3 separate regions of the Homo sapiens genome follow, and regions 1 and 3 are each linked to region 2. The links are contacts of gene promoters, found by promoter capture Hi-C in blood cells and fetal thymus (Javierre and others, 2016). All regions are on one chromosome and are shown on one strand. The core of a region is centred on a gene start or on the middle of the fragment in contact, and the rest is flanking DNA. Distances in the headings are between cores, read along the strand shown.

What was found. Contacts are between HindIII fragments. The CHiCAGO score rates a contact against its expected background, and 5 or more counts as called.
Region 1: a contact is called between a fragment that was not itself captured here and the fragment with the promoter of WHRN in region 2, in 4 of 17 cell types (naive CD4 T cells, naive B cells, total B cells and 1 more). The highest score is 5.5, in naive CD4 T cells.
Region 3: a contact is called between a fragment that was not itself captured here and the fragment with the promoter of WHRN in region 2, in 3 of 17 cell types (neutrophils, total B cells and naive B cells). The highest score is 8.3, in neutrophils.

The regions. Positions count from the first base shown.
Region 1 is chr9:114,349,922-114,354,285 of GRCh38, forward strand. AKNA (AT-hook transcription factor) reads right to left here. Exons shown (of 22, transcript NM_001317950.2): 15 at 938-1,100. Among named protein-coding and RNA genes, the nearest start is that of ORM2, 22 kb to the left of the region's middle. The HindIII fragment of the contact is 3,998 bases long and covers 149-4,146 here.
Region 2 is chr9:114,504,096-114,508,849 of GRCh38, forward strand. WHRN (whirlin) reads right to left here and starts at 1,378. Exons shown (of 12, transcript NM_015404.4): 1 at 89-1,378. The coding sequence starts at 706. RefSeq lists enhancers at 1-757, 758-1,648 and a silencer at 1,173-1,472. The HindIII fragment of the contact is 12,008 bases long and covers 1-4,754 here.
Region 3 is chr9:114,674,025-114,678,305 of GRCh38, forward strand. The region is part of intron 1 of TEX48 (testis expressed 48); the gene reads right to left. Among named protein-coding and RNA genes, the nearest start is that of TEX48, 6.0 kb to the right of the region's middle. The HindIII fragment of the contact is 1,170 bases long and covers 1,276-2,445 here.

The DNA of each region.
Region 1 (4,364 bases), core at 898-3,397, 150 kb before region 2:
TCCAGGAAGCCCTCCCTGAAGCCTCTAACCGGACCAGATGCTCCTTCGCTGTGCTCCCACAGTCCTTTAGTCCTCTGCCATCATGGTATTTATCACAATGGAGGGCACTACTGCCTGTTTCTTTGTCTGTTCATCCTACAAGATGGTAAGCTTTAAGAGGCCTAGGATAGAGTCTTGTCCACTATTGTATTCCCAAGGCCTGGCATACCCTAGACAAACAAGCCTCTAATTCCTCCACTGATGTCAGGGGAGGCTGCAGGGGTAGACTTACTAAACTCAGACAAGGAAGCCAAACACCAGCAGCTGGACACAACTTTGCACGTAGGCAACATGACAGCCTCATGCCTGTTCGAGCCAAAGAAACCTTGGCTGGGCCACCACCGAGCAGTCTCCCCAGCGCATCCCGGGACAGACACCCACTCCAGCAAGGGTGTGTAAGTGATCACTGGCCAAAAGCAACTAAGAGGAGGTGTGAGAGAACTGACCAAGCGATTTTACCATTTCTGTTCAACCAAGGAAGTGGAACTTTCTTAGTAGAAAAAATGCACACGAACCAAAAAAAGAAAAGAAAAACTCAGAAGGCAGTAGCTTCTTGGTCCATACAATCAATGGTCAAATTGCAGAAAAGATAGCCCTAGAAAGGACAGGCTTTTCTCGGAAAAGAGATGATGGAGAGAGAGGGCATAAGTGTCAGCACCAGAAAGGTGAATCTTTAGGTCATATTCCACTGGCTGGAGAAGTGTGTCCTCGATGTCTAGATCAATGAGGTCCCACAGAAACGCTGGGAACTGGGAGGCAGGACACCTGGGTCCGTCTGCTCCTACCACCACCATCTGTGTGAGCTGGGCAGGTCTCCACCTCCACCTGCTAACACGTCGCATCACGCTCCCGTCTGTATGATGAGCTTGAATCCCCAGGATCCAAGTGTCTAACTTACTCTCGCCCTGCCCTGGTGAGCAGGAAGCTGGGGATGGTCTCTGTTGGTCCACAGGGTAGAGGCGCAGCGGCAGGGGCGGGGGCTGGGGGTGGGCTGATTGTCTTGTTGGGAAGGGGCTGTTCAGAAATCCGTTTGTGCCCCTCAAACTCTGAGCCAGGAACCGCTAGGGAGGCAGAGAGAGAACCCAAAGTGAGTTTAAGCAGAGAGAACTTCCAAGCTCACACTTGTGCAGGTGGAATGATGGGGGAAGTGAAGAGACGGTGCCTAGTTCAAGGTCACAAAGGAAGTTCCTGATGAGGCCAATGACCCACACTGACCTCCAAACCAGAAGATCTAGATTTTGCTGGGAGTGTGGGGTGCTGAGCTGGGCCTGCCCCGCTGTTTCTAACCAGAACCCCTCCTCCCACCCACCATGACACCATCCGAGTCTTCAGGAACTTCCCCTGCAAAGAATTAATCACTTCTTCACTTGGGTTCCTCAAGACTTGATCACCTTCTCACCATGTTTTTGTGGGGCTGGCTTCAGAGCCTCCTCTGAAATTATAGTCACCTCTTTCCACGTATGCATGTTTCTGGGGAGAGCATTAATAACTTTTAACGAATCTCCCAAAGGGATGGGTGACCAAAGGTTAAAAACCACTAATCCGTCCCCTGCATTAAAAGCAATGAACTGGCCAGACATGGTGGCTCACGCCTGTAATCCCAGCACTCTGGGAGGCTGAGACGGGAGGATTGCTTGCGCCCAGAAGTTTGAGTCTAGCCTAGGTAATATAGAAAGACCCCATCTTTGCAAAAAAAAAAAAAAATTATATATATAAAAAAATTAGCTGGATGTGGAAGTATGCCCCTTTGGTCCCAGCTACTTGGGAGGCTGAAGCAGGAGGATCGCTTGGGCCAGGGAGGACAAGGCTGCAGTGAGCCATAATGGCGACACTGCACTGCAGCCTGGGTGACAGAGCAAGACCCTGTCTCAAAAACAATAAAGAAATAAATAAAAAATAAAAGCAATGAAACCCTTGGAATACTACTCAGCAATATATAAAGGAGCTAACTATTAATACACAGAATAATCTAGATAAATCTCCAGAGAATTATGCTGAGTGAAAAGCCAATCCCAAAAGGTTACATAGTATATGATTCTATTTATAGAACATTCTTGAAATGATAAAATTATAGAAATGGAGAACAGATTAGTGCTTACCAGGGGTTAAGGACAGGCTGGGGGCAGGAGGGAAGTGGGTGTGCCTATGAAAGGGTAGCATGAGGCTCCTTGTGGTGATGGAACGTTCTGTATCTTGACTGCATCAATGTCAACATCTGGCTGTGACATTGTACTACAGTTTTGCAAGATAGTCTCACTGGGGAAAACTGAGTAAAGGCACATGGGATCTCTGTGTATTATTTCTTATAACTGCATGTGAATCTACAATTATCTCCAAATAAAAAGTTTAATTAAAGGCCGGGCGTGGCGGCTCACACCTATAATCCCAGCACTTTGGGAGGCTGAGGCGGGCGGATCACTTGAGGTCAGGAGTTTGAGACTAGCCTGGCCAACATGGTGAAACCCATTTCTACTAAAAATACAAAAATTAGCTGGACGCAGTGGTGCATACCTGTAGTCCCAGCTACTCGCGAGGCTGAGGCTGGAGAATCACTTGAACCTGAGTGGTGGAGGTTGCAGTGAGCTGAGATCGTACCACTACATACCAGCCTGGGGGACAGAGTGAGACTCCATCTCAAAAAAAAAAAGTTTAATTAAAAACGTTTTTAAAATAATGAACCAGCTGGGCGTGGTGGCTCATGCCGGTAATCCCAGCACTTTGGGAGGCCGAGGCGGGCGGGTCACAAGGTCAGGAGTTCGAGACCAGCCTGACCAACATGGTGAAACCCCATATCCACTAAAAATACAAAAATTAGCCAGGCGTGGTGGCGCGTGCCTATAATCCCAGCTTCTCAGGAGGCTGAGGCAGGAGAATCTCTTGAACCCGGGAGGTGGATGTTGCAGTGAGCAGAGAGTGCACCATTGCACTCCAGCCTGGACAACAGAGCGAGACTCCATCTCAAAAAAAAAAAAAGATGAACCTTTTAGGCAAAGCTAATCTGAGGTGTCAGAAGTCAGAACAGTGGTTATGTTTGGGAAGCAGGTAGTGACTAAATGGGACTTCAGTGAGGTTCTGGGGTTCAGATCATACTGAGTTTCTTGGTGTCTGTTCACCTTGTAAAAACTCATCAATTTAAGTTCTTTTTGGTGGTTTTTAATTTCAATAAATAATTCATGTGTATTTCTAAAGGTCAAAAACTGAATCACATATAGATTTCATAGACATGGAAAGTGTTTATAGTACAATTTAGTGAAAAAAGGAGGTCGCCAAATATTCACATATAAAATGATCTTATTTTTTGTTTTTTTTTTTTATGTTTTTTGAGATGGAGTTTTGCTCTTTCGCCCAGGCTGAAGTGAAGTGGCGCAATCTCAGCTCACTGCAACCTCCGCCCCCGGGTTTAAGCCATTCTCCTGCCTCAGCCTCCTGAGTAGCTGGGATTTTAGGTGCCAGCCACCACGTCTGGCTAATTTTTGTATTTTTAGTGGAGATGGGGTTTTGCCATGTTGGCCAGGCTGGTCTTGAGCTTCTGACCTCAGGTGATCCACCCGCCTCAGCCTCCCAAAGTGTTAGGATTACAGGCGTGAGCCACCGTGCCCAGCCTCATTTCTGTTTTAAGTATAGTCACGCATCACTTAATATTGGGTATAAGCTCCCAGAAACACATTGTTATTCTGTTTCACCATGTCACAAACATCATAGATTACCCACACCTATTACATATGTGAGGTAGATGGAATAGCCCATTATTGTAGGCTACAAACCTCTACAACATTGCCTGCTGAATACTGTAGGTATCTGTAACACAATGGTAAGTATTTGTGTATCTAAACATAGAAAACAGACCATAAAAATATGGTATAAAAGATTTTAAAAATGGTACACCTGTAAAGGGTCCTTACCATGAATGGAGCTCGCAGGACTGGAAGTTGCTCTGGGTGAGTCAGTGAGTGAGTGGTGAGTGAATGTGAAGGCCTAGGACATTACTGTACACTGCTGTAGACTTTATAAACACCATACACTTAGGCTAAATTTACAACATTTATACAAAAGTTTTTTCTTCAATAATTAATCAAGTTTAACTTACAGTAACATTTTTACTTTATAAGCTTTTTAAATGGTTTTTAACCTTTTGACTCTTTTGTAATAACATTTAACTTAAAAATACATTGTAAAGTAAAAAATATTTTCTTTCTTGATATCCTTATAAGCTTTTTTCTATTTTTAACTTTTTTTTAAAAAACTTTAAAAACTTTTCTGTTAGAAACTAAGACAAACACACACACATCACAGACACACACACACATTAGCCTAGGCCTGTATAG
Region 2 (4,754 bases), core at 128-2,627:
TCTAAGGACACACAGCATGGAGTTACTGAAAAAGCTGTGCCACTCTGTCCATACTCTGCCCCAGACTCTCTCCAAACCACAGCCTTACCTTGACGGCCTCCGCGTGGGTCACCCGGGCCAGGGATTTGTCGTTGACGCGCAGAATCTGGTCCCCGACCCGCAGTCCTTCCTTCTCAGCTAGAGAGCCTGGTTCCACCAGAGACACGTAGATGCCCACGCCGTGCTCCGAGCCCCCACGGATGCTGAAGCCCAAGCCCTCGTGGGCCTTGGCACGCCGCAAACTCACCAGGCGCACCTCCCCTGGCCCCGCGCTGTCGGGGCCGCCCCAGGCGGGCTGCCTGTAGGGGGTGGTGGCGGGCAGGTAGAGGCCCTCGGCCGTGTATTGGTCGAAGAGCAGCTGGTCGGAGCGCGGGATGACCAGACGAAGCATGGGCAGCAGGCGCCGCTTGACCGGACTGTCCAGCAGCACGCGCAGGGTGCGCACCAGGTCGAAGACGTTGCGGCGCGCGTGGTAAGCGTTCAGGCAGTGGGTGAACTGCTCCCGCTCCGCCTCGCTCAGCAGCGCGGTCAGCGCTTGGTGCAGCTGGCGCACGTTGGCAGACAGTAACCGCAGCCCCGCGCCCCCGCCGCCGCCCGCCCCGGCCGCCGAGCCCAGCGAGCCGGTGGAGGACGAGCTCACCGACAGGCCGTCCAGCGGCGCGTTCATCTCCACGCCGAGGCCCGGCCGGGCTCTGAGCGCGCGGGGTGTGGGCGGTGCCGCTGTCCTCGCGGGTACTGGCGCGACAGCTGGATCCCCGGGAGCGCGGAGACGACGGCTGGAGCCTGGGTTTGGGGAGCACGGGTACAGTGGCTGGATCCTAGGGGGTCGCGGAGACCGCTGCTAGAGTCCCGGAGGCGCGAAGACGGCGGGGGTCGCGAACCTGGAATCCGGGGGACGCGGAGACGTCGGCGGGTTCCTGAGAGACACAAGAGTTGGCTGCTGGAGCCCGGAGGTGGCGGAGACTGCTGCTGGAGTCCGGGGGGCGCGGGGTCAGCAGCTACATTCTGGAGGGCACGGAGACGACGGGTGGCTGGAGTTTGGGGGCGCCGCAAAGCTGACCTGACTGCCCCGTCACACCATGCCCGGGGCTCCCCCAGCCGGGCGCCCGTTCCTCTAGGGCTGGGGGACCCCAAAGTCAGAAGTTGGGGCGGAGGGCGCTCTAGTCCCAGAGCACTCCGGGGAGTGGCAGCCGGTGAAGCGGCGCGGGCGTCCGACAAGGGGTGCGGGGCATGTCCGGGGCAGCCCCGGGATGCAGCCGCCCGGGGAGCCTCCGCGCCTCTGCGCCGCCCGGCCGCAAGCCCGGACTTTGCGAACTGTTGAGCCACCCGGGCCGAGTCTTCCAGCGAGTTCCGACGCCGTCTCGTTGCCAGCCCGGCCCGGGCCCCGCCCCCTCGTCCCTCCTCCTGCCCGCCCCCTCCCCACGGGCTCCTCAGGAAATGACGTCCCGCCCGGTGCGCCTGGCCGTTGCCTGGAGACGGGGTGAAACAGTCCAGCCCCAGGGAAGAAAGGGGTGAACGCGGCGGTAGGGGTGGGAGGAGCCCCCGCGTCCCCTACCCCGCCGGCAGAGCCGGGAGCGGGGCTCAGAAACAGCGCTCTTCGGCGGTCGCAGCGAGTGCCGACACCAGGATCGCTTTGGAGTAATTAGCCGGCTAGCTAATTCACAATTCGGGGGGAAATCGTCAAGTTTTTTGTTTGTTTGATTTTTGCTTCCAAAATACTGGGCACTTCAGTCTCGGTTTTCTTCCTTACAATGTGGCGCTCCCCTCCTGCACGCGCCCTGACATGACAAATTCCAGGGTTTATGTGGACGGTCGTTGGCCACCTACTGTGTGCGAGAGACGAATACAAGCATAGACTGCTGTCTGCCGGAGTCAACTCCGTGGCAGGGATGGATCAGGCTGGACCCCTTCCCAGTCTCCATTGCAAGGGAAAAGCCACTTTCAGAAATATTATATAAAGTGTACACCCCACGCTCGCGCACACACGTACAAATGAGCGCATATAAAACTGGTGAAATCTGAGTAAGGTGGGTGGATTTTATCAATGTCAATGTCCTGGTTGCCATCGTGTCAACATCGGGGGAAACTGGGTGAAGGGTACATGGCATGTCTATGTATTATTTCTTAGAACTGCATTTGGATCTACAATCTCAAAATAGAAATTAAAAATATACATATTTGAAGTGGCTTGGAGAAAAATCTCTTCTATGCTCTCCCATCCCTAGGCAAAATGGGAAGATACACCCAGGTGTGCCCTGGAGTCGGTCGTCACCCACCCAATCCCCCAAATAAGATTTAAGTAAAATCCTGTGCTTTTATTCTAATGGGGAGCTTCATAGTGCTACACACACACACACACACATACACACACACACCCTACCTCACACACATCCCTTCCAACCTGAGCTGCCTCTCCTAAGCTACTCTTCTATGTATTTTTCGTAAAAGTCTTCCAGAATTTCCATTGCAGAGCCAGCTGACATCTATCCAGGGTAGGGCAAGATGGAGGATTACCTGGAGGATTTGGTTTGTGGTGGACCCAGAAGGATAGATCATTCATTTATTTATTTATTTATTTATTTATTTATTTATTTATTTATTTGGTCGCTTTTCATTCAACGTTTTTGAAGCATCTGCTCTGTGCTGGGTCATGTGCTGGGTGCTGGAGACCCAGGGGAGAAAGATCAAATAAATAGAGTTAAAAACCAGTGTGATACCTGTTGTAATGGCGAGGGAGCCCAGGTTTAGGAGAGGAGAATATGGTAAGGACTTTACTGAAGAGGCGACACCTGAATGAAGAACCTGTAAGGAAAACGGACTTTCTCCTCTAGACAATGGGGAAGAGTGGAAAGGTTTTCAACACTGCTGACTTAATGCATTGAGGCTAGGAATGGAAGCTGTGTTTTCCCTAAAGATCTTCAATTCTTTACTTCCCTAAAACAGACATAGGTTAAATTAATGCCCAATAAACATATTTAACAGTGTGTCTGAGGAAGATTTTTTAAAAAATAGCCAATTAGGCTACCTTTGGCCATCTGTCTTAAAGCTCTAATCTTAGCAGTTAATGGTGTCTATCCTTATTCCTCCTTTGTAACTGTTGTTGAAGCCTTTCATGCAACTAGACCAAGATGTTTAAGGAAAAAAAATCAATCTTCTCCACCCCAAAAATGTATTAATGACATACCTCAAAATGCCACCAAGCAGGGCTTAATTGTATGCAGTTCAGGTTTCCTGCTAATGTGTTTCATGCTCAGCTCTCACTTAGTTTGTTTTAATTATAATTACTGTGATTGGTTTGATAAATGCATCCCAGGAGCTAAGATCCCCAGTCCCAACATTTTATTTCTGTGCAAAGGATGTTTTCAAGAAGGTGTTTTGCTTTAGGCAGCAGAAACCAGGCTGCATGCAGTCTTAGTAGAAAAAGAAACACTTTCTTCTGCAAACATCAGAGACCGTCTGAAATGCTGTGCTGTTGTTTAATTTCATAGAGGACGGTTTGGGAGGGCAGATGATAGAAAAAGAAATCGTTGGAGTTTCTTCCATCCATCTTACATAACCACCTTAGTATCAGTTTGCACTGTGTCCCCTCAGGCAAGAGGCAGTGTGTAACTGTGCTCAAACCTCCAGAATCCTATTTCATGTATGAAGATGTTTGTCATTCAGAAATAAGCTCTTGGAAATAAATGCTTCAGCTTCTGAGGGCTGCACTGCAAGACCTGGGAGAAAAACCTGAGTACACAACTTGCCCTTGGTTGCATACTGCCCTCTTCAGAGGGAAAATATTATTCTCCCATGCATGCAGCAGGCTTCCGTTTGCTTTCTTCACCAAAGCCACTTTTAATTGTTCATTAACGCTCCCCAGCTCTGGCCAGTGAATGCCCTTCCCTTCCCTTAGGAATGTTCCTGGAAACTTGAACACACTGGAGCAGTTGAAAAGACAGAAGGAAGAAGAATAAATTGTGTTGGGCGTTTTTCTTTTTCTTTTTTTTTCTAGACGGTCTCATTCTGTCACCCAGGCTGCAGTACAGTGGCATGATCATGGCTCACTGCAGCCTCCACTACCAGGCACAGTATCCTCCCACCTCAGCCTCCTGGTTAGCTGGCACTGCAATGCCTGGCTAATTTTTTGTATTTTTCATGAAGACAGGATTTCACCATGTTGCCCAGGCTGGTCTCGAACTCCTGGGGTTAAGCAATCCATCCACCTTGGCCTCCCAGGGTGCTGGAATTACAGATGTAAGTCACCACAGCAGGCCAGTGGTTTAGTTCCTATGTGTTGATTTTAACCAAGAAGTTGAGCTGCACTCTGGATACCAGGCAGAAAACCATTATTCCAGTCTCAGAGCTTCCCTTTAACTAGTTGTGTGACCCCACAGCAAGTGGCTTCACCTTTCATTTGTAAAATAAGGCTCCCAAACGTCCTGCCTCCCCAACATCCTGCCTCCCCAGAAGACAACTGCAACCTGTATGTTTCATGTTCTGTGCAGCAAATGAAAACATGTTGCAACTCATGGAGTAACATAGAGTTATTTTCCCTCTTTGTTATGTCAATCTTAAAAAGTCTTTTGCTAATAAATATTTCATAGTCATTGGAAGTGTCTCTCCTTTCCCTTTATCTGCTGGAATGTACCTTTAAAAGCAATGGAGATGAATTTGAGGTGCCTTTGCCATGGGACATACAGAAAAATAAAGCTAATGTTTATTGAGTGTCAAAC
Region 3 (4,281 bases), core at 611-3,110, 170 kb after region 2:
TGAACTCCTGGGCTCAAGTGATCCTCCCACATTGGCCTCAAAAGGTGCTGGGATTACAGGAGTGAGTCACCGCGCCTGGCCAGAAAGATTTTTTCTCTTTCTTTTCTCCAAAATTCAGTGGTTTTGCATATTCCTCAGAAGAAAAACCAAAGTTCTCACCTGGGTCTTAAGATACTCTGTAATCTAATCATCCTTCTTCCCTCCTGTCCACCCACAACCCTCATCACCAACTCTGTCTTCAATTCCTCCAATTCCCCAATTCCATTTGCCCCCCCTGCTGAGTTTTAAAACACAGCAAGCTCCCAACTCAACAATTTGTGCTTGTTTTACTCTCTGCCTGGAATTCAGTTCTCTTAGATAACAACATTCTGTCATTACCTTCAAGTCTTTGCTTCACCTTTTCTAGTGAGACTTTCTCTGTTGTATTTAACATTATAACCCCCTTGCCCAGCACCCCAGCACTTCCTAATCTCTTCCTTGTTTACTTTTCAAACATTTTCTCTTTCTTTTTTCTTCTTTCTTTCTCTCTTTTTCTTCTTTTTTTCTTTTCTTTCTTTTTTTCTCTTTTCTCTTTTTCTTTCCTTCCTTCCTTCCTTCCTTCCTTCCTTCCTTCCTTCCTTCCTTCCTTCCTTCCTTCCTTCCTTCTTTCCTTCTCTCTTGCTCTCACTCTCTTTCTTGACAGGGTCTAGCTCTATGCTCAGGCTGGAGTGCAGTGGCACAATCATGGTTCACTGCAGCCTTGAACTTCTGGGCTCCTCCTGCCTCAGCCTCCTGAGTAGCTGGGACTACAGGTGCATGCCACCATGTCCAGCAAATTCTTTTTTTTTTTTTTTTTTAAGAGAAGGGGTCTCACTGTATTGCTCAGGCTGGTCTTGAAATCAAGTGATCCTCCCATGTTGGCCTCCCAAAGTGCTGGGGTTACAGGTGTGAGTCACCGTGCCCAGCTTCATTTCCTAACACTCTACATAATTTGCTAAATTACTGTGTTGAAGGTCTGCTTCTTCCCACTAAATTAGAAGTCACATGAGGTCATGGATTTTAGCTGTTTGGTTTACTGCTCTATTCTCAGTGTCTAGAGCAGTACCTAGTGCAGTGTGGGAAGTCAATAATTGTTTGTAGAATAAAAATTGAGGGTGTTTGTAGAATAAACTAGCATTTATTCTTGTCTTGAGTAAAAGCACTTGCAGGCCCTGGGGGCAGTAGAGAGGTGGGTGGTAGTTTTTGTGCCAGGAACATCACAAGCTGTAGGACACAGCTTACCTCATTCACATGCTAAGCTTACTCTGATGGTTTCATGAGTCAATTTTAGTTCTGCTCTCTGTTTACTGGTTGGGACTATTTTTCTTCCCTGTCCACTGCAAAGCATATCTATCTTCTTCCCATGTTCCCTATTTCGTGGGATGATCCTATTATTCACTCTGTCTCTAGAGTCAGAAGCCTGCCAGCCTCCTGCCATCTGCTCGTGTTCATCAGTCTTTGAACTTTACTTTCCAAATATCTCTTCAGTCTGTCTGCCCAGCCAATCCTTTGCCATTTCCTTCACCGTAGTGTAAGCCACCATCACTTCTCACCTGGACCACTGCTTAAACTTTCTCATTGGTTTGTTTGCCTCCACCTAAAGCTAGAGTTATCTGGTAGACATGTAAATCCTATCTCTCTTCTGCCCCAACAACCCTCTGCCCCACCAAGGGGGTCCCCAAGTCTGCAGATCCAACTCCTTTTGTGATCACCACTGTTATTCTCTTCATCCTCATCTTCTCTGGGTTGCACTCACCGCCCTACAGCCATAAGAGATGCTGTATAGGCAGCTTCCCCAATCACCTTTTACTGAATGGACCCTGTTCACATCCTGTTCCCTCTACCTGGGATGTTCTCACCTCAATCCTTGAGTCATCAAACTCCAGGATTCAGCTCAGGGGCTACAGGAAGGCATGGGATAAGTTAGGAGTCCCTCCCTTGTGCTCCCACAGCACTCCCCTGCTGGCCCACCATGTTTTCCTGTACACAGCCTGTTATTGTACAGTGACTGCCTAACTCATGGTAAATGCTTAATAAACACTTGTTGAAACGTTGTCTTGTAACTGCCTCTTGTTGACAGTCTGGATACTAGTTCATGAGCTTTTTCCTTTTTCTTTTTCTTTTCTTTTTTTATTTTTTGAGACAGGGTCTCACTCTGACACCCGTGCTGGACTGTAGTGGCACCATCAGGGCTCACTCCAGCCTCATCCTCCCAGGTGCAAGCGATTTCCCTGCCTCAGCCTCCTGAGTAGCTTGGACTACAGGCTCGCACTACCATGCCCGGTTATAGTTTTTTTGTTTTTGTTTTGGTAGAGATGGGATTTTGCCGTATTGCCCAGGCTTATCTCGAATTCCTTAGCTCAAGAGATCTCCTGCCTCAGCCTCCAAAAGTGCTGGGTTATAGGCTTGAGACACTGAGCCCAGCCAAGCTTTTTTCTTTTTTTTTTCTTCATTTATTTCACATGTATTTACTGAAAACCTGCCATGTTCCAGGTACTGTTAGGTGCTGGAGATATAGCAGTGAACAAGACACAGGATAGACAAATGTCCATGGAAGCAGGGACAGTATTTTATTCACTTTTTTTTTTTTTTGAGATGGAGTCGCGCTCTGTTGCCCAGGCTGGAGTACAGTGGCGCAATCTTGTCTCACTTCGTGCTCCGCCTCCCGGGTTCACGCCATTCTCCTGCCTCAGCCTCCCGAGTAGCTGGGACTACAGGCACCTGCCACCACGCCTGGCTAATTTTTTGTATTTTTAGTAGAGACGGGGTTTCACTGTGTTAGCCAGGATGGTCTCGATCTCCTGACCTAGTGATCTGCCCATCTCGGCCTCCCAAAGTGCTGGGATTCCAGGCGTGAGCCACCGCGCCTGGCCTTTATTCACTTTTGTATCCTCAGCACTCAGCCCAGGGATGGGCACAGAATAGGTACTTTATACATATTTGTTGAATAAACACATGAACCTTCTCTGACTGTTGGAAAAAAACTATGCCAAACAGATCTCCTTCCTCCCTTCCACTAACTGATTTTTAACTTTCTGCACATAAGCTGTTCCTTGTGGTTAGATACGATGCGGGCTAGACACATACAGATGTCACCATTGTGTGGATTTTTTGGTCAAAGTGGGGGCACTCACTAGGTCCATTTAGCTCCAATCTCCAATAGTCTTTTGGATCTGCTGCCAGGTGAGGTGTTTTTGTTTGTTTGTTTGTTTTTTTGTTTTTCCCTAGACCTAGTGTCAGTGTCATGGGATTTTTTTTTTTTAACATGATTTTAGCTCTGATGTATTTCATTGAGTTCTCTTTAGTGGATTTATTTCATTTTCCTATAATTTATAAAGAAATAGAAATTTATACAGGCAGTTAGATCTTTTGTTTTGGAGATACACCATTTAGCAAATATCCTTGCCATTAATCTGCTTCGTATTCTGCTACTTGCTTTAGTTTCAGTTGTCTTCATCCACTTATAAAAATGCTTGCCTCACGGGGTTTGGCTTTGTTCCAGACTGCCTTGTGTATGTTGAATGTAGAAGGATGCACTTCATAAGAAAGGAATGGAAGCATAGCTCTGACAAGCCCCCACCATGAGTCAGCCCTGAGTGTCTGGAGTTTTACTGGAGTGGTAATTGATTTGTCTAGAAGAAATTGCTAAAACCTGGACTTGGGTCCCTCTAAACCTTTGTCAGCATGTGTTCTGTCTTGGTAAATCATAAAAGAAGGTCACTTTTTTTTTTTAGCTTATATTCGGGAGTCAGTAATTTTCAGGTTTTTGATCATGTGGCCTCTTTTAGGCTCTGCTTGGTCAAGAAATTCAAGACACTGCACAAGTAGAAACTGTTTATCAATTGTAGCGTGCTCTTTCCTGCTTGTCGTGGTCTCATCTGCATTAAGGTTGTTGCCTCTTCCTGGAAAAACTCCGTATATATACTCTCACTATAGGTACTCTCATGTATTTGTCTTAATAAATGGCAAAAGTTCACTAGATGACTTAGGATTACTGTAGCCATGATGACAAAGTTTTGATGTCAAAAATCAGATTTAAGAGGAGCTCTAGAGAAGAGAGAAGACAAAAATGCCAAACATAAATAGAAGGCTTCTTTGTCTGGAATGCTATGGCCTCAGGAAGAAAAAGATAAAAAAGACCTTACTCTTACTCAAACCTTCTGACACCTGTTTTCTTTGCTTCTGTCTTTCTCTCTCCACCCAACTTGATCTTTACTACCCACGTATACTCCTCTTACTCCTTCCCCTGGCTGCCCAAATAAA